Linked DNA regions of Homo sapiens: regions 2, 3, 4, 5, 6 and 7 are each linked to region 1. The links are contacts of gene promoters, found by promoter capture Hi-C in blood cells and fetal thymus (Javierre and others, 2016). All regions are on one chromosome and are shown on one strand. Each heading gives the region's core, a stretch centred on a gene start or on the middle of the fragment in contact. The rest is flanking DNA. Distances are from core to core; before and after follow the strand shown.

Evidence for each region. Contacts are between HindIII fragments. The CHiCAGO score rates a contact against its expected background, and 5 or more counts as called.
Region 2: a contact is called between a fragment that was not itself captured here and the fragment with the promoter of KLF6 in region 1, in 2 of 17 cell types (neutrophils and total CD8 T cells). The highest score is 10.5, in neutrophils.
Region 3: a contact is called between a fragment that was not itself captured here and the fragment with the promoter of KLF6 in region 1, in 1 of 17 cell types (neutrophils). The highest score is 5.6, in neutrophils.
Region 4: a fragment that was not itself captured here is called in contact with the fragment with the promoter of KLF6 in region 1 in 4 of 17 cell types (neutrophils, total CD8 T cells, total B cells and 1 more); the score reaches 9.1 in neutrophils.
Region 5: a contact is called between a fragment that was not itself captured here and the fragment with the promoter of KLF6 in region 1, in 1 of 17 cell types (neutrophils). The highest score is 7.6, in neutrophils.
Region 6: a contact is called between a fragment that was not itself captured here and the fragment with the promoter of KLF6 in region 1, in 1 of 17 cell types (neutrophils). The highest score is 11.0, in neutrophils.
Region 7: a fragment that was not itself captured here is called in contact with the fragment with the promoter of KLF6 in region 1 in 1 of 17 cell types (neutrophils); the score reaches 6.0 in neutrophils.

The regions. Positions count from the first base shown.
Region 1 is chr10:3,783,818-3,786,517 of GRCh38, reverse strand. It overlaps KLF6 (KLF transcription factor 6), which reads left to right and starts at 1,309. Exons shown (of 4, transcript NM_001300.6): 1 at 1,309-1,605. The coding sequence starts at 1,504. RefSeq lists silencers at 400-459, 640-919, 1,170-1,769, a promoter at 571-1,508 and enhancers at 1,375-1,930, 1,931-2,487, 2,488-2,700. The HindIII fragment of the contact is 8,520 bases long and covers 1-2,501 here.
Region 2 is chr10:4,154,392-4,157,091 of GRCh38, reverse strand. LOC105376368 (a long non-coding RNA gene) reads right to left here. Exons shown (of 4, transcript XR_930587.4): 3 at 2,449-2,568. Among named protein-coding and RNA genes, the nearest start is that of LINC00702, 88 kb to the left of the region's middle. The HindIII fragment of the contact is 3,461 bases long and covers 1-2,700 here.
Region 3 is chr10:3,447,687-3,450,386 of GRCh38, reverse strand. All of the region lies in intron 3 of LINC02669 (long intergenic non-protein coding RNA 2669), which reads left to right. All of the region lies in intron 1 of LOC105376360 (a long non-coding RNA gene), which reads right to left. LOC124902538 (a long non-coding RNA gene) reads right to left here and starts at 753. Exons shown (of 2, transcript XR_007062362.1): 1 at 1-753. The HindIII fragment of the contact is 2,460 bases long and covers 175-2,634 here.
Region 4 is chr10:4,137,473-4,140,172 of GRCh38, reverse strand. No RefSeq gene overlaps it. Among named protein-coding and RNA genes, the nearest start is that of LINC00702, 110 kb to the left of the region's middle. The HindIII fragment of the contact is 1,307 bases long and covers 662-1,968 here.
Region 5 is chr10:3,411,665-3,414,364 of GRCh38, reverse strand. The region is part of intron 1 of LOC105376360 (a long non-coding RNA gene); the gene reads right to left. Among named protein-coding and RNA genes, the nearest start is that of LINC02669, 90 kb to the left of the region's middle. The HindIII fragment of the contact is 6,581 bases long and covers 1-2,700 here.
Region 6 is chr10:3,431,526-3,434,225 of GRCh38, reverse strand. It overlaps LINC02669 (long intergenic non-protein coding RNA 2669), which reads left to right. Exons shown (of 5, transcript NR_155743.1): 5 at 1-714. All of the region lies in intron 1 of LOC105376360 (a long non-coding RNA gene), which reads right to left. Among named protein-coding and RNA genes, the nearest start is that of LINC02669, 70 kb to the left of the region's middle. The HindIII fragment of the contact is 5,189 bases long and covers 1-2,700 here.
Region 7 is chr10:4,105,402-4,108,101 of GRCh38, reverse strand. No RefSeq gene overlaps it. Among named protein-coding and RNA genes, the nearest start is that of MIR6078, 120 kb to the right of the region's middle. The HindIII fragment of the contact is 3,080 bases long and covers 1-2,700 here.

The DNA of each region.
Region 1 (2,700 bases), core at 60-2,559:
ACTCACTAAGGTCCCCACCTAGTCTTACAGCCACATGCTTCTGCCGGACCCTCTAAAACTTAACATACAAAACCCTCTAATTTTTTTTTACATAGTCCATTCTTTCAAAATGTTTAATGTTCATTAAACTATTTTGAAACAAAAACTATAATACAGTTACAATTCAGTTTTCCATTTTGGATTTTAAAATGCTCTGGTTCGAGTCTCGACATTTTTCTTAAAAATGAACATTACGGTATATTTTAGGAGATAATTTATATGGAAAAAAACACACACACTAAATGTCGGCTTGCACCTAAATTGTTTACACGTTCATGGGAAAACCTAGCTGTTAACCTTGGTGAGGGCTAAGATCGCCCTCTACAAGATAAACACGTTTCTCCCAATTCCAAGGGGAGCCTGCGTGCTCCCCTCCCCCACTCTGGTGGCCCGGAGGACAGAGGGGACCCTAGGACTGGAGGGGGACGGAGACGGGCTCAGGGATGGAGGGGGACAGAGAGGGACCCGGAGGTGGAGGAGGACAGAGAGGGGTACCCCAAGGTTAGAGAACAGAGGATGACTAGGGGGATGTAGGGAAACAGAGCGGCGCAGAAGAGGACAGTTGGGGACGGGGCGGCCCCGGGCATAGAAGGGGACAGTTGGCGACCGGGAAGCCCCCGGCGTAGAAGGGGACAGTTGGGGACGGGGCGGCCTCGGGCATAGAAGGGGACGGGGGGGAACCGGGCGGCCCCGGGACCGGACGGCCGCCCGCAGGGTGAGCTGCCGGAACCGGGGCTCGCGCGGCGACAGGGCCCGGCTTGGTGACCGGGACGGGCGTGGGGTGGCGGGACCGGGCAGCGGGGAAGAGAGACCGGGACTGGGGACAGGCGACGCGGCCCGCCCCGGCTCTCCCAGCCCCGGCTCCCTTAGCTCCGGCCGCGGGCGCAGTGCAGGGCTCGGCCGCGCACCTCACAGCGCGGACTCCTCCGGCGCGCGGCCGCCCGCGCCTTATATACCCTGCTAAAAATAGCCTGCGAGGCCACTTTCCAATCAGAACGAGCAGAGTTCGAATTGAGCCAATGGTGCGGGCCGTGATGGAGAGTCTCGGTCACGCCAGGCGGGGCCGCTGTGTGTCGCCGCCTGCGATTGGCCGGAGCTGACATCATCGGCGCGCAGCCCCCGGGCCGGGAGCCACGGGATTGGGCCGCGCACGGGGCGGGCGCGGGGCGAGTCACGTGGGGGGAGGGGGAGTGGGGGGAGCCAGGCGGGGGCGGAGGGGGAGGCTGGCAGCGGAGCTTTGAATAGGGAAGTTTTGCAGGGGTTACGTTTGCAGTCAGTCCGGTGTTTGCAAATATTGTGTGGGCTCCGCGCGCTGCGGGCTGCGGGAGGGTCCGGCCGGGCGTCTCTGCGAGCCTGGAGTTTGCATGAAACTTTCACCTGCGCTCCGGGGAGACTTTCGGCTCCGGCTCCCACCGCGCGCCTCGCCGCCCTCGCGACCGCGGGCTCCGTCCAACCCGGCCCGACATGGACGTGCTCCCCATGTGCAGCATCTTCCAGGAGCTCCAGATCGTGCACGAGACCGGCTACTTCTCGGCGCTGCCGTCTCTGGAGGAGTACTGGCAACAGGTAAACGCAGCCGGCCGCGGTTCCCTGCGGGCGCCGGGGCGCGGGCCGGGTCGGCTGTTTGGGGTTCAGACCCGGTGCTCTCTGCGGTCCGCTGGGCCTGGGCCCCGCGCTGTCACCGGGGGAGCGGGCGCAGCGCCCCCGCCGATCGATCCTCCAGGCTGCGATCAGCGTCCGCCCAGGGAAGCCCCAACTCCCGGCACAGCCCGGCCGAGCCCCTGGCACGAGTTCGGAGCCTGTCCCCGCTCCAGACGCCACAGCTGGAGCTTGTCATGGGGACCAACTTGCTCTGCCTGCCAAGGTGTTTTTTTTTTGTTTGTTTGTTTTTTGTTGTTTTTTTTTAACGGATTTTGTTTTTGTTTTGTTTCTTGGTGCTTGTACTTAACAGTTTTTTAAAAAAATCACATTTTGCCCCCAGAACGTAGACCAGCTCTCTTTTATTTTTGTCTTTTTTAAACTGTAGACCATTTCCAATGTGTTTTCTGCTCTTTGGAATGCCTAACATTTCCCCTAGATCTGCCTTATTTGTCTTCCCTGCTTCTCTTGTTGACCAAGAAAAATAAAAATAAAACTGTGTACACCCCAGTGACTTGTCAGTCTTGTGACAATGAGCCCGTCCAAACTGCTTCAAGTCTTAGTTTGGAAAGAAGGACCTCGGTTTCCGACATTGTCGTAGAACTGGAATTTGGGGGCATTGGAAATTTAAGAAACTTACCAGGTCCCCGTGCTTATAGGTAGCATCGCCCGAGGGGAGAGAGACTGACACTCCTCCCATTGTCTCTCCAGCGATCGCAGGAGGGTTTACTGTTGTCTCCCTGCCCTGCTGTGCTGTTTGTTTTTCGTCACAAAGTGAATTGCCAGATCAAATAGAGGCTGTGGGTTTCCAAGCCTCGAAAGCTTTAAGGAAGATGAAATGCAGGGTGTTGCAACCTTCACACGCCTGCTTAATTGTTCACAGTCCTCTCCTGCCTTTTCCCCCTCCCCCTCCTGTTTTTTTCCTCCTCAAAGAAGCTGCTCCCTAGGACGTGATTGAAATTGATCTAAGTAGTTTCCTTCGGGCGTTTGGGATTTGGGCAAACGGCCAGACCTGGCTCTTGG
Region 2 (2,700 bases), core at 120-2,619, 370 kb before region 1:
TAGTCCCAGCTACTGGAGAAGCTGAGGCAGGAGAATTGCTTGAACCCGGTAGGCGGAGGTTGTAGTGAGCTGAGATCGTGCCACTGCACTCCAGTCTGGGCAACAGAGCAGACCCTGTCTCAAAAAAAATTCCTAACTTTGGATTTATTTTTTGAAAAATAACAACATGGTCTGACATGTAAAGACTTTGAAAGATCTCACTTCCATCTTCAGACCAAGAAAAAACTGATCAAACTGAAAATCAACAACTCTTCTTATATCCATCAGAGACTCGCAGTCACAGGGCAGACTGCTGCCCCCAAAACGGGAAAGAGGGGTAGATACTCAGAGAGAATAACAGTTTACTTGTGACAGAAACCCAGGAGCAGAAGCTGACACATTGGAGGCAGGACTGTCTGGGTTTGTGGTTTAGAGTCAATCATTTTTTGTTTGCTTGTTTGTTTTTAAAGACAGGGTTTCGCTCTGTTGTGCAGGCTGGAGCACAGTCGTGCCAACACAGTTCACCCTAACCTCAATCTTAAGGGATGTTCCCCGACCTCAGCTTCCATAGTAATTAAAATTAAAGGCCAGGAGTGCACTCTGGCACCTGTCTAATTTTTTGTTTTATTTCTTTTATTTTATTTATTTATTTATTTATTTTGAGATGGAGTCTCACTCTGTCACCCAGGCTGGAGTGCAGTGGCACGATGTCAGCTCACTGTTACCTCTGCCTCCCGGGTTCAAGTGATTCTCCTGCCTCAGCCTCCCAAGTAGCTGGGACTACAGGCACGCACCATCATGCCCAGCTAATTTTTGTATTTTTAGTAGAGACGGGGTTTCACCATGTTGGCCAGGATGGTCTCGATCTCATGACCTCATGATCCACCCACCTCGGCCTCCCAAAGTGCTGGGATTACAGGCGTGAGCCATCGCGCCTGGCCTTTTTGTTTTATTTCTTATTGAGATGAGGTCTTGCTATGTTGCCCAGGCTGGTCTTGAACTCTTGGCCTGAAACATCCCACCTCGACCTCCCAAAGCGCTGGGACTACAGGCATGAACCACTGTGCCCTGCCAGTGTCAGTCATTAATTTTGAAAAATTCTCAGTCATTATCATTTCAAATAAACAAATAAGATTTGTCTCAGGTATGAAAGGTTGGCTCAACATTCAAAAAGCAATTAACATAATCTACCACTTCCACAGTCTAAAGAAGAAAAATCATACAATCATATGTGAAAGAATTTGATAAAATCCAATACCCATTCATGATAAAACACCTCAGCAAACTAGCTATAAAGAAGAACTTTCTCAACCTGACATAGAACATCTATTAAAACCTACAGCTCTCCTCTTAATAAATAATGAAAAATTGAATGCTTTCGTGCTAAGATCAGAAATAAGGCAAGGATATCTACTCTCGAAATTTCTATTTAACATCAAAATGAAAGTTCTAGCTAATAAAATTAGCAAAAAATAAAAATTATACAGATTGGAAAGGAACAAATAAGACTCTCTTTGTTCATAGATGACATGATTATCTCTGTTAAAAAAAAACTCAATGACAGAAAGCTGGAATGAATAAGTGATTGTACCGAGGTTGTAAGGTACAAAGGAAGTATACAAAAGTCAATTGCTTGCCATATACCAGTAATGAACAATTAAAATTTAAAATTAGAAACACATCACTTATATTAGCACCCAAAAATGATACTTAAGTGTAAATCTGATGAAAATATGTACAAGAGCTAAAAGTAGGAAACTCAGATAAAACACATCAAAGAAGATGTAAATAAGTGGAGAAATATTCCACATGTGTGGGTAAGAAGACTCAGTGTTGTTAAGATGTCAGCTGTTCTCAACTTGATCTATAGATTCAATATGTTCCCAGTCAAAATGCCAGCAAGTTAATTTTTAGACATCAACAAATGGATTCTATTATATGGAGAGACAAAACACCCAGCTTGCCAAAAGAGTGTTGAAGAAGAACAAAGTCAGAAGACTTGCTCTGTTTGACTTCAAGACTTATTATAAAGCTACAGTAATGAAGACTGTGGTACTGGCAAAATAATAGATGAACAGATCAATGGAACAGAACAGAGAGCCCAAACATAGAATCACACAGTGCAATATACATATATTTAAGGTACACAATATAAAAGCTGTTATTCAAGGATTTGCTTCCATTTTATGCGTGCGCATAATATATAGAAAGTTATCTGGGGAGATGTACTAATAAGTAGTCAAGGTAAATGTTTTTGGATGGAAAGATGGCAAATGGATTTTTAAAATTATTATTATGTTTATCAGTGTTTCTACATCTATGTCTTTTGTAATTAAAATATTAGGTTTAAAAATGTTATTAAATTAACACAAAAATAAATTACACTGATGTTTTGTAGGAGCATTGTATGTAAAATAAAATAAAGTGAAACATGCAAGAACTTAGTGGAATATGCTTCCTTTTCCTTACTTTGTATTTGGGTGCTGAACATGCAGGTTTAGTCCATCAGAGGCCTCGACGGTGCCTTTATTCATCTTCCAACCTGCTGGTAATAGCGTGGCTTCTCATCTTTAGAACATGATCCTGTTCCTGCCAAGGGTGAACTCACGTAAGGTTTATCTGTACTATTTCATTTCAGTCCCTCCCACATCAAAGTATGCTGTGACCTACATAAGGACTTTAAAAGTGAGTTATTTTTTACCCTCAATCCTTCCTGGCTTC
Region 3 (2,700 bases), core at 155-2,654, 340 kb after region 1:
AATTACACAATCATTTCAATAGATTCAGAAAAGGCATTTGGTAACATTCAACATCGTCTCATGATGAAAACTGTCAACACATTAGGTATTGAAGGAACATACCTCAACATCAAACAAGCCATACATGGCAAGCCCACAGATAGCATCATACTCGAAGGTAAAAAGCTGAAAGCTTTTTCTCTAAGATCAGGAGCAAGACAGGGATTCCCACGTTCTCCACTTCTATTCAACATAGTGCTGGAGTCCTAGACAGAGCAATTAGGTGAGAAAAAAAAGTAAAAGGCATTCACATTAGAGAGGAAGAAGTAAAATTGTCTTTGTGTGCAGATAGCATGATCTTATATACAGAAAACCCAGAAGACTCCACCAAAAATCTGTTAGAACTGTTGAATGAAGTTAGCAAAGTTGCAAGATAGAAAATCAACATACAAAAACCAGTAGCATTCTCTACATTAAAAATGAACCACCCAAAATAGAAATTAAGAAAACAATCCTGTTGTAATAGCATCATAAAGAATAAAATACTTAGGTATAAACTTAACTGAGGTGGTAAAAGCTCTATATACTGAAAGCTAAACAACTATGATGAGAAAAATTAGATAAAAATAAATGGAAAAGTATTTCATGTTCATGGATTAGAAAAATTAATATTGTTTAATGTCCACACCACTCAAAAGGATCTACAGATTCAACACAATTCCTATCAAAATTTCAGAGGCTTTTTTTTCAAAGAAATAGAAAAAGGAATCCTAAAATTCATAAGCAATCACAAAGAATTCTAATAGCCAAAGCAATGTTGAGCAAAAAGAACAAAGATAGAGGCACTCTACCTCTTGATTTCAAATTTCATTACGTGCTATGATAATGAAGACAGGATGGTACTGGCATAAAAAAAACAGACCCACAAACCAATGAAATAGAATAGAGAGCCCAGAAATAAATGTATACATATATACAGTCAATTAATTTTTGATAGGGTGCCAAGAATACACAATGAGGAAATGATAGACTCTTCAATAAATGGTGCAGGGAGAACTGAATATCCACATATGGAAGAGTGAAATTGGATCCTTGTACCATATAGAAAAATCAACTCTAAATGGACTTAAGATTTAATCATAAGACCTGAAAGTGTAAGACTCCCAGAAGAAAACATCGGGGAAAAGTTTGTTGTCATTGATTGGTCTTGGCAGTGTTTTTCTGGATATGACACCAAAAGCACAGACAACAAATGTCAAAATAAACAAGCAAAATATACCTAACTATAAAGCTCTGCACAGTAGAAGAAACAATCTACAAAATAGAAAGGCAACCTAGAGAATGAAAAAAAAGTGTGCAAGTCATATATCTGATAAGGGATTAGCATCCAAAATATACAAATAATTTATACAAATAGCAAAAAAAAAAAATCAAATAACCTGATTATAAAAGGGATAAAAGACCTGAATAGGCATTTCTCCAAGGAAGACACACAAAAGATAAACAGGTTCATGAAAAAGTGCTCAACATCACTAATTATCAGTAAATCAAAAGCACAACGAGATATCACCTCACACCTGTGAGAATGGCTATTATTCAGAAAAAAAAAAAGATAAGAAGTGTTAGTTACTGAAGATGTAGAGAAAAAGAAACCTGTGTACATTGCTAGTGGAAATACTGGTACAGCCATTGTAGAAAACAGTCGGAGGTTTCTCAAAAAAAAGTAAGCATAGAAACATCAAATTGTCCAGCAATTGCACTTTGGGGTATATATCCAAAGGAAATAAAATTAGTATCTCTAAGAGATCTCTGAACCCTGTGTTTGTTGCAAAGTTATTCACTACAGCCACGACGTGGAAACAGCCTCAATGCTCATTGGTGGATGAATGGATAAAGAAAATGGGGCATATTTGTACAAGGGAATATTATTCAGCCTTTAAAAAGAAGGAAATGTTGTCATTTGCAACAACATGGATGAACCTGGAGGACATTATGCTAAGTGAAATAATCCAAGCACAGAAAAATACCACATGACTTCATTTATATATGGAACCTAAAATAGTTAAATTCATAGAAGCAGAAAGGAGAGTGGTGATTACCAGGGGCTGGGAGAAGGGAGGAACAGGGCATTGATGGTCAAAGGGAACAAAGTTTCAGTTATGCCAGGTGGATGCGGTATGAGCTCTACTCTACAGCATAGCACCCATAGCTAACAAGACTGTATTGTGTACTTAAAATTGCTAAGACAGTGGATCTTATGTGAACGCTTCATAAAACAACAAACAACAACAACTTAACAATAATAATAACGGGGTGGAAGAAAACCCTTGGAGGTGAGGGATGTGTTTACCACCCTGATGATGGTGCTGGTTTCACTGGTGGATACTTATCCTCAAACTCATCGAGTGCAGACACTAAACTTGGACAGGTTTAATTTTATGATTGCATGCCAATCGTACCCCAATCAAGCCATTTTTAAAAAGAAATAAATTAGGAAAGTAAAAAAAATAAAAATTAAAAATTACAAAAGCCCAGTGGGTTGGCTCTACCACTTCCTAGGAAACCAACTTATAGAGCCTTTCTCTAAGTTTCAGTTTCTTCACCAGTAAAATGAAGATTATAGACATATCTTTATTTCAATATTGTTTGAAAGCTTTCATGGGATAATACACAATTCTTAGCCCTGCTGATTGGTACACAATAATTTGTAACTGTTGCTTC
Region 4 (2,700 bases), core at 66-2,565, 350 kb before region 1:
TCTGCCAGCTGAGGAGCAAGGAGAGCCAGTCTGAGTTCCAAAACTGAAGAACTTGGAATCCAATGTTAGAGGGCAAGAAGCATCCAGCATGGGAGAAATATGTAGGCTGGGAGGCTAGGCCAGTCTCACCTTTTCATGTTTTTCTGCCTGCTTTATATTCACTGGAAGCTGATTAGATGGTGCCCACCATATTAAGGGTGGGCCTGCCTTCCCCAGCCCACTGACTCAAATGTTAATCTTTGGTAACACCCTCACAGACACACCCAGGATTAATACTTTGCATCCTTCAATCCAATCAAGTTGACACTCACTATTAACCATCACACTATATATTCAATTTCATTCCCCTTCACCTTCCATGTATATCTGAGTATCACTGCAGGGATAAATACTAGCAAGTATGAATGGGAACCAGTTGAAGCATTACTTTTAACAAAAATAGCTAAAAGACATTTACTGTATATCCTGGTCAATAGGCCTCTCAAGGTAAGCAACAAACATATGATAGTTTGACCTCCAGAAAGAAAAGTGAGGGGACATTTACATGAATAGATTGTGTCTTATACACATCACTTAGCTCTTCCCTGTGTAGATTTGATTTTCCAAAAGTCCTTCACCAGGAGTCAGACCTGTGTCATTAACGGCCTTAGACAAACAAGCTTCTGTATTGTCAACTGTAATAAAGAAAATGTTTTCTAAAATCTCAACAAGACAATAAATGTGAAGAGCCAAAACAAGGTCTAGAACCAAATAGGTACCGAATAAATGGAAGTTCTTGGTACTGTGGCTACTATTTAAAGGTTATTTTTATTATACACTCATACTCTCAAACAACAAAGAGTGGCTAACCATCGCATATTGTACACAAGCTATAAAATCTCTATCTCTGGAGAGTAAGATAAATATCTGTCTGAAGTGGTTCAAGTAAACCCTCCCAGCAGGGCAACAGAGGCAACACCTCATGTCTAATGTGGGTCTCAGCTCTCTCATTCTAGAATCTTCCTACTCTGCTTCTGTGGCATCTAAAAGCCTCCTCTTCATTCACTTCTTGGGTAAGTGTACTCATGAGACAGGTTGAGAACATCCGAATATATTGTTCAAAAGAAAATCATGCCAATAGTTACAGATAAAATTTGGAAACATATATACCAGTCCACTTAACTATAAGAATAATACAATCCTATTTAGCCTCTGTACAGACAGAACAAATAAAATATTTTAATAACCTCGGCTGTTTAATAAAAATTAGTCAGCTAAACCTGAAGCTAAAACAGCTAAAATTACAATTTTGAGCCAATTCTCTCTTGCTCTTTGTACTTGCCGTACATTAAGTATGTAAGATTACATTTAAAAATAACTTTGTGAAAATGCAGTGCATTAATGGCCATATTTTGAACCAGTCATGTAAATATGAGCATAATAATTAATAATAATTAATTTTAACTGCAGAATAGCAGATTAATCACTTGTGCAAACTTAAACTTGCACATAATTTGTCACTGTTGATGTCATGAAAGCTCTAGAGTAACTTTAATCCATGCACCTGCATTTAAATTATTTAATGATATTTTACATCGTATTAATCAAACATGATTAATCATCGTATAGGAGAGAATAGAATTTTGGCTCGTATAGTACTTTTCATAGTTGGGATTGCACAAAGTGTTTAGCAAATTAATGACTTAGGTGTGCAGTGACTGGTAAATCCTATAAGGTCATGGCCCCATTATCACTCACAGGCAACCATTGGTTGTAGAGCTCATTTTACTATTGCAATAAGGTCTTTTAATGTCAACATTTATAACAACCATGGAAGGAATAGCAGGAATTCTTACAATACCTCATTAAGTAACAAAGCTATGACAATGCAAAAAAAAATCAGACTGGAATTTAATCAGCACTGAAATTCCCACTCTATGGCTCCAGAGGCATAGAGAATGTTGGAAACTCTTGATCAAGGGTGAAGCTTCTCCTCTTTCTTGTTCATGATAACATCCAACTCAACTGATTGCTCACAGTATTGTCATTTCTTTATTTAAAAAATAATTGCAGAATTTTAATTACCACTGAACACATAATTTGAGGGAATTTTATTGGTGTAGCTTACACACTGAAAAGTGCACACATCATAAGAATATGCACAATTGAAGTGCAAAAAATGATAATTTTCACAAAGCAATCACCTCTGTGTCACCACTGCCATGACCAGGAAATAAAACATTGCTAGCAGCTCAGATACTCCCATGCCCTAGAAGTCACTACCCTCACCAAAAGCATCCACTATTCCGTCTTTCACACTTGAGATGAGTTTTGCATTTGAAAATCGCAATGAAACAATCTTGTTTTTTGAATGCACCACAGTGTCCTCGTTCTGCTCTTCATATGCATTGGTTGTTTTGCCTTCGGAGTTGTTATGAAGAGTGTCACCATAAACATTCTTGTACACATCTTTTTATGAACACTTGTCCTCATTTTGGTTGGATAGATTCCTAGGAGTGGAAATGTGGGTGATACCGAATGTGTATGTCCCATTTTAGGAGAAACCACCACACATGGGCTACACATGCCAAGGTTTCCACCAACAAGGGTTGAGCATTCAGGCGGCCCCTGTCATTGCCACGGCCTGCCATTGCTCACCAATGTTGACTCAGCAGTTCTGGTTGGGGAGCAATGAGGTCTCATTTGATTTTAAGCTGCATT
Region 5 (2,700 bases), core at 69-2,568, 370 kb after region 1:
ATGCCTTAACCTCCTCTTCTCATAGGATGCCAGTCAGATCAAATTAGGGCCACTCCAACGGCTTCATTTCAACTCAGTTGCTTTTGTAGTGACCCTGTCTCCAAGTCCGGCCACATCCTGGGGCATGAGAGTTAGGATTTCAGCGCATGAGTCTTGGCCAACCCACCTCAGCCCATGACACCAAGCCCCTGACGCGGTGCCCACCCTCACACATTCCTCCCAGAGCCCCTGTTTCACGAGTGCTCACATTGCAGGCACCCGACTGGAGGAGACGCTCTCACCCATGCGCTGCCAGTCTCTCCTTCCTGAGCCTTACCCGGAACAGATCCTGACCTCTGTTTTTTGTTGTCGTTGTTGTTGTTGTCGTTGCTGTTGTTTTGAGACGGAGTCTTGCTCTTGTTGCCCTAGCTGGAGTGCAATGGCGTGACATCGGCTCACCTCAACCTCTGCCTCCCAGGTTCAAGCCATTCTCCTGCCTCAGCCTCCCAAGTAGCTGGGATTACAGGCATGCACCTCATGCCCGGCTAATTTTGTGTTTTTAGTAGTGGTGGGGTTTCTCCATGTTAGTCAGGCTGGTCTCGAACTCATGACCTCAGGTGATCCACCCACCTCGGCCTGCCAAAGTGCTGGGATTACAGGCGTGAGCGACCGCCCCAGCCTCTGTTTCTTCCTTATGGGCCTGGCATGGAGCAGCTGGGGGCCTTTCTGATTGATGCCTTCAGGTCCACCCCGAGACCCTCAGTAGGTCCAGCACACTAAAGTCTGGTGGATCTGTGCACTGAGCACAAACCTTATTGATTTATTCGTTTATTTCTTTTTGAGACAGGGTCTCACTCTGTCACCCAGGCTGGAGTGCAGTGGCGCAATGAGAGCTCATGGTAACCTTCAACCCCTGGGCTCAAGCAATCCTCTCACCTCAGCCTCCCACATAGCTGGGACTACAGGCATGCACCACCACACCTGGCTAATTTTGGTATTTTTTGTAGAGATGGGGGACCCACTATGCTTCCAAAGTTGGTCTTGGACTCCTGGCCTCAAGTGATGCTCCCGCCTCGGCCTCCCAAAGTGTTGGGATTATGGGCGTGAGCCACCGTGACTGGCCCTACAACCCTTATTTGTAAATCTTTCAATGAGGTGTTAAGAAGGCTCGGAAACACACAGTGTCTGTGGGGTCCTCCAGGAATCAGACGCTGAGATGGAATCGGACTTGCAGGAGATTGGTTGGGACGTACCCGTTGTGGGTAAAGGTGAGGTGAAGCCAGAGGCTAGAGGGCTTCAGGCCACGGTGCAGGCCAGACACCTGTAGATGGAGAAAAGGAAGCAGAGAGATGGCAGGAAAAGCCGAGGACGGACGGAGGCCCCACAGCCCAGCTGATGGGGAGCTCCGGAGGAGAGACTGCCCGTTAGGGGACCCCAGGCTGGGGGCAGAGGCCGGCCATCCACGTCCGTGACATGCGGCCCTGGTCAGGATGTGGGTGGCAGAGTGGGCCCAGGAATGGAAGACGCATCAGATCTCAAGGGTGGGGCGGCTGAACTCTGTCCTGTCAGAAGCTGCTCTCACGGGGGGCTCTCAGCGGTCACCCCCACGGCAGCCACACCACCTCGGCAGACAGGAATCACCAGGGGTGGGACCAGCAGAATTCCCCCAGCTGGGCCCCACGGGGCTGGGGACTCTAATGTGTGGAGTCATGTGTGTGAATTGTGAGTGGGAAAGTGAGACCGTGCAGGGAAAAACCCACTGTCCTTGTCCCCACCTGAGAAAAGGGAGCAGAGAGGCAGGTTGTCCCCACCTGAGAAAAGGGAGCAGAGAGGCAGGTTGTCCCCACCTGAGAAAAGGGAGCAGAGAGGCAGGTTGTCCCCACCTGAGAAAAGGGAGCAGAGAGGCAGGCAGCAGGGAAGCCAGTTAGGGTTAATGAGCTGGGCCCCTCTAGCAGATGGTTTGGGCAAGCGCTTCAGGACAGTCCCACTGACTGGCCAGGATCAGGGAGGTTTTTCTCACCTGTGCCTGCCTCTCCTTGGTTGAGGGCTGCCTGTGCTTGATGAGCAAAAAGTCCAAGCACAGACAGAGTTGTGTGTGGTCCTTGGACGGACCAGGGTGCAGTGGTGCAGCCCACGGTGGGTGTGTAGCTGCCCAAATCCATCCACACCCACCTCAGTTGGCTCTGCCATGTTGCTGACCCTTCAAGGAGGTGGCCTCTGGTAATCACCAAACCCAGTAAAAGACAGCAGGAGAGTGAGGGGGGCAGGGGACAGTGGCTGCTGCAGCCGTTGGTCCGAGGGTAGCATGCAATAAATAGCATTCACCCACCTCCCTCCTCTCCTCCTGACATTCCAGGGTGCATCCAGCCGACGGCTTCTGTGCCACCAAGACAAAGGGAGGCTGGCAGGTGACTGGTGTGGGCCCCTTGTCGCATCTCCATCTCCATAAAGTGGTCCTAGGCCATGTGGGTAAATCACACAGTGTGGGCCCTCAGAAAATGATGTGCACCAGATTTGAGCCAGAGAAGAAACGCAGTCCTCAACAGGCGTCAACCTGGGAGGACGCAGCCCTTCTCTCTCCTCTTCCCAGACCACATAGCTGAGCCTTCACCAGGCTCTGGGAGTCCAAACATGTCTTTGCCTCCAGCCACAGAGCTGATGACTGAGTGTCCAGGGGGAAGCATAGCCACTGTGCAAGATGCTTCTCTGGATGCCGTCTTT
Region 6 (2,700 bases), core at 78-2,577, 350 kb after region 1:
AGCAATTATTTCATGTGGAGACAAGTGATGGCAAAGCCAAAAGGCCACGGGTGTTGAGCTGTTGACGAGAAACTGAAAGTGCCATTGTGTTTATACAGGAAGCTGCCATTAGTAGGGATTTGAAAAAGCAAGAGGAGAGGATGAGTTTAGTGGGGAGTTCTTACACTTCAGGTGCTAGTGGATACCACCAAGTCAATATTGAGTAGCAGGAAACCAGGGCCTGATGTTCCGTCAGGCCATCAGGGCGGAGACATTGTGGAGAGGAAGTTTTGAGGCTGTGAGATTAGGAGAGAAGCATGGAGTGTAGAGCAGGAACTAGGCCTCTCTTTACCCAAAATCCAAAACCCCACTTATGCCAGACACACTCAATACTTTCTGCTGGGATCCTCAATTCTCATAAAGTTTTCATAATAAGGCCGGGCGGGGTGGCTTATGCCTGTATTCCCAGCACTTTGGGAGGCCGAGGCGGGCGGATCACCTGAGGTCAGGAGTTCAAGACGAGTCTGGCCAACATGGTAAAAACCTGTCTCTACTGAAAATACAAAAATCAGCCGGGCTTGGTGGTAGGCGCCTACAGCTAGTCGGGACGCTGAGGCATGGGAATCGCTTGAACCCAGGAGGCAGAGGTTGCAGTGAGCCAAGATCATGCCACTGCACACCAGCCTGGGGGATACAGCAAGACTCTGTCACAATAAAAAAAACAAAAAGTTTTCATAAATTGGGATGTTTCCTCTATTCCTTCCCCTGTCTCATTCTTGAGGGATTGAAGATAGTGTTTGAAATCTCACTGGCAACCCTTCCTGCTCCCTTTCCCAGCAGTTCCATGACCTTATCCACTCTAACAAGCCCCGTTTCCTCCCTGCTTCTGCCACTCGCTGAACACAGTACCTTGGCATTGCTGTCCTACATACTCCATTCTAGCCGTGACCGCTCTTCCGGAACACAATCTCCTACTAGCTGCTAGGTCTGAGTGACTAACATAAAATTCTCCCTGGTCTGTCAGTATTTGAAATACAGCCGCTTGTCTTGAAATGTTTATTGTCACTTGTTCTTGGTATAAGATGAGCATTTAAAATACACACACACACACACACACACACGCACGCACATATACAGGTATATCTGAGGGTTTACTATGTGCCAAGAACCATGCTGGAATCCTTTCATAAATATGGCCTCCATCATTCCTGAGAACAATCCTATTAAAATGTGATGTGAATGCATTTTCTCATTCATTAAAAGTGTGTGTGTGTGTGTGTGTGTGAGAGAGAGAGAGAGAGAGAGAGAGAGAGAATATGACATCCATCTGGTAACAGAGACCTGATCTCAGTTTCCCCATCTGGGTACTGCTTATAGAAATTGATTTTGGACTTCAAGGTAGAATATGATGCAAGCTAACCCTAGGGGAACCCTGACAAATTAAAGGGGAAAATGCCTGTAGGGAGATGCCATGCTGAGTCCCCACAGAGCCCAGTTCAGCTGGGGATGTTGCTCTGAGAACATGCAGATGAATGTCTTATTTGTTTTGGGCTTCTTAGACTTCAATCCATTCCAGGAACCCTTTTAGGGTTTACTATGCAGCCAAGTGTAAAATGCATCTGATTTTTAGGAAATTTGCTAAAAGAAGCTATACAACTCATGCCAAAAACCTCTCCACAGCAGCTAAAAGTTCCATTAAAGTATGTCATTAAACACATGTTCCAAAAAGGTTTTGTATCTCATTTTGTTCTCTGGGGTCTACATTTTGAAGTAAAACATCTTCACTAACTTGGGCATTTGATGTTAAAATACTAAAAATAATGGACAAAATTATGACAAGGAGAAGGCAAGGCTGGGACGGGCCACAGTGAATAAAAATTCAATCTGTTTTCCCAAACCCACTGCCATGCTAACTGGTATGTGTCTGCTTCTCTCAGTGATTCTGCGAGCTATGGTCCCAGTGTCCCTAGTGGCAGTGGCATGAAACCATCTCAGGGCCAACCTCCAAGGAAACAGCATTCAAGTGCCTTTACTCACACGGGAGCTGTGAGCCGGGGATTTTCTGCTGCAAGTGACAGACCACCCAATGCAAGCTAAAATTAAAAAGAGGGACTTAGGGGCTTTCATAAACCACTCCAGAGCTAGGCCTAGGTTCAGAAGAGCCATCCAAGGGCAAGTGTATCAGCATCTGTGGTGGCAGCTGCCCTCCAGCGTCCTTCTGGCCTGTCCAGGTGCCCCATTCTGTAGGATCTCCTGTGCTCTCCCCACTGCCCATCTCCACAGATGAGAGGGAGGTCTCTCTCTCCAGAGAATCCAAAACTGCCTTCATGACTCTCTGGGCACTAAGTAGGACACGTTCTTATCTGCAGATCAATCCCTGTGGCCGCCGTGTGGCTTTGTTAACTGACTGACTGGTGACTCCAGTTCAGCCCTGGAGCTGGACTGGGTCAGGGCCCCCAAATTCCACAGGCAAAACATGGGATGTCTCTGCTCCCTGCAGGTCAAATGTCAGTGCCATTCCCAGGAGCACAGGGAATGGAGGTGGGCAGCGCAATCCACACGTGGACGTTTCCAGGGAATACATCCCCTTGGTGGGGGCCAAATGGGTGGGGTTAGGGTAGGCCCTGGGAATGCCACAGTGAGATATCCACAGTCACTGTCTACTGCAGGCTCATTCTCCACTGAGGAGGCCGATGGATGAAGACCTGAATGAGACAAGGA
Region 7 (2,700 bases), core at 53-2,552, 320 kb before region 1:
AGCCAAGCAGCTTCTCAATTCTGAGGGCACACTAAGCAGTGAGGACATAGTTGTACATTACCCTCCCCTGGCCTGTGATGTAGGTAAGTGAAATTGTCATCACATAGAAGCTACAAACTGAAACATGTTCACAAAAGAATCAATGTGGATGACATGTCAGCCACTCTACCAAATCACATCCATAATCACATATTGCCAAAGACTAACAATGTTTTCCTCCCAAGTGAAAAAAAAATAACGTTTCCAGGTATCAGTGCTATCTTCTTTAGTTTATGAAAATAAATGAACATATTATTGCTGATTTTCTCACAAGTAAAGTCTTGAAATACCCAATATCTGAAAATGAACCAGAAGAAAAAGACTTAAAAGGAAGATTTTAAAACAAGCCGAGTATCGTTCTTTAAAATGAAATGAAAAAAAATGTTAATTTTTTTCGTGATGAGTCATCTTTTTTTGGATCGAATACACAATTCAAGTGTTACTAAATTCTTCAGCATCCTTGTCAATCTGTCTGCATTCAACACTCATCTTCAGGGGCTAACTCCGGTTTCACTTTTGCACGAACTCTTTGCTGTGGCAACCAATCCATAATGACTTCCCTTTTCTTGGAGATCCAAATGATCTTCATAACACTAAGTAATGTTTCAGATGTCCTTTCTACACATTACTGTTGTATCTACTGCAGCAGGAAGGGTGCCTACCACATGCATATTAACTGATAACATGTCTCAGCAGTTTTCATAGATGTTGCTTATTCTTGGATAGTGTGTCTCCAATTCACATTTGGGAAATTGTAGGGTTGTATTGACTCATTGGTTTACCCTAAGATAGAAGGGTGAAGATAGCTAAAATAGGGATTTAGTTGCACCTATATATACATATTTTAAAAATTGGACTGTCTAGTCTGGAAAATCCTTTTTTAATGTAGTCTAACACTGTTTCTTTTATTACATTCTCTTTCTAGACTCTATTGCTGAGTCTAAGAAAAAAGAAGGTATCTCCAAAAATGTACCAATACTTTACAGGTTGAGAATGAGTCTGATTTATTTTACTTTTTTATTTTATTTTATTTTATTGAGATGGAGTCTCGCTCTGTCACCCATGCTGGAGTGCAGTGGTGCGATCTCGGTTCACTGCAACCTCCACCTCCCAGGTTCATGTGATTCTCCTCCCTCAGCCTCCTGAGTACCTGGGATTACAGGTGCCTGCCACCACGCCCAGCTAATTTTTGTATTTTTGGTAGAGACGGGGTTTCACCATGTTGGTCAGGCTGGTCTCGAACTCCTGACTTCGTGATCTGTCCGCCTTGCCTCCAAAAGTGCTGTGATTACAGGCATCAGCCACTGCGCCTGGCCATAAGTCTGATCTTTTTACAACACCCTGCAGTTCTTCACTTCTTTGACTGCTGCCCCAATCTCAGCATCATGTGGAAATATGTATACTGGACCGAATGGAACAAGGGCTATCCTTATGGAGTGGACAGAATGGGCTGGCGTCACCCTGCTTCAGGTGTCGTGTTCACATCCTCTTCATGTTTATAGTCTTCAGCTTCACTTGCCTTCTTAGAGGCGATGTTTTGAAGAACACTAACTTAGGTCTTGTGCCCCTAACTATAAAAGTAAGCGACTTCGTAATACTTGCAGTCAGGTAATTGATTCCAAGAGGAATGCAGGGGTTAGAATTGCAATTTCCTGCAAAGGAAACACCCATGTTTGGTAGTTTTCTTAGTTGTCTCTCAGTTATTAACAGCCCTACTTATATTTGACAGACAAGTAATAATGTGGCCATCTATCTCTAAGACAGCAGAGCTGAATATAGTTCCAACTTTATAAATGAATTTTAAAAGCCCTACAGACAAATTTCATTAAAGTAAAGAATAAAAATTTGGTAAATGGAGTCTTTGGATTTTACTAACGAATAAATCTTTACTTTTCTACAACTGCTAATAAGGAACTCGAAGGTTGAATAAATAAAATGAACATTTCCTGTGTACTAATGCAGGCCTCTTTTAGCAAGGGTGTGTAGAATGCTTTTAAGATGACTGCATTTATACACCCTTACAATTAGACAAAAGCACGTCCCAGTATTCTGTTTAATAGTGGGTCAGCCATGGAAGAGCTCAGACATGTCACAAACAAAACCCAAAGAAGAGCCTCTATGTTCTATGTAGGCCCTTCTTACTACATAGAGATGTCCAAGTTCAGCATGATAATATATTTCACAACCATCGTGAAAAAATCAAGTTAAATATTGTACATATGGTCTTTTAGTAACAATAATGTAATTAACACGTTAATAAAAACAGGTCTTTCTTCATATGATGCAGAAATTATCCTTTCTTAGAAGAAATTATTTTTCTCTTAAGAAACAATTTTCACATATTTTTACTTTAAGTCAGAGGTCCCCAGCCCCTGGCCCGTGGACCAGTACTAGTCTGTGGCCTGTTAGAAACTGGGTGGCACAGCAGGGAGAAGAGAGCATTACCACCTGAACTCTGCCTCCTGTCAAATCAGCAACAGCATTAGATTCTCATAGGAGCACAAACCCTACTGTAAATTGCACTTGCAAGGGATCTAGGTTGCACATGCCTTATGAGAATCTAATGCCTGATGATCTGAGGTGGAACAGTTCCATCCCAAACCATCCCCCGAGTCCATGAAAAAAATTGTCTTCCATGAAACTGGTCCCTACTGCCAAAAA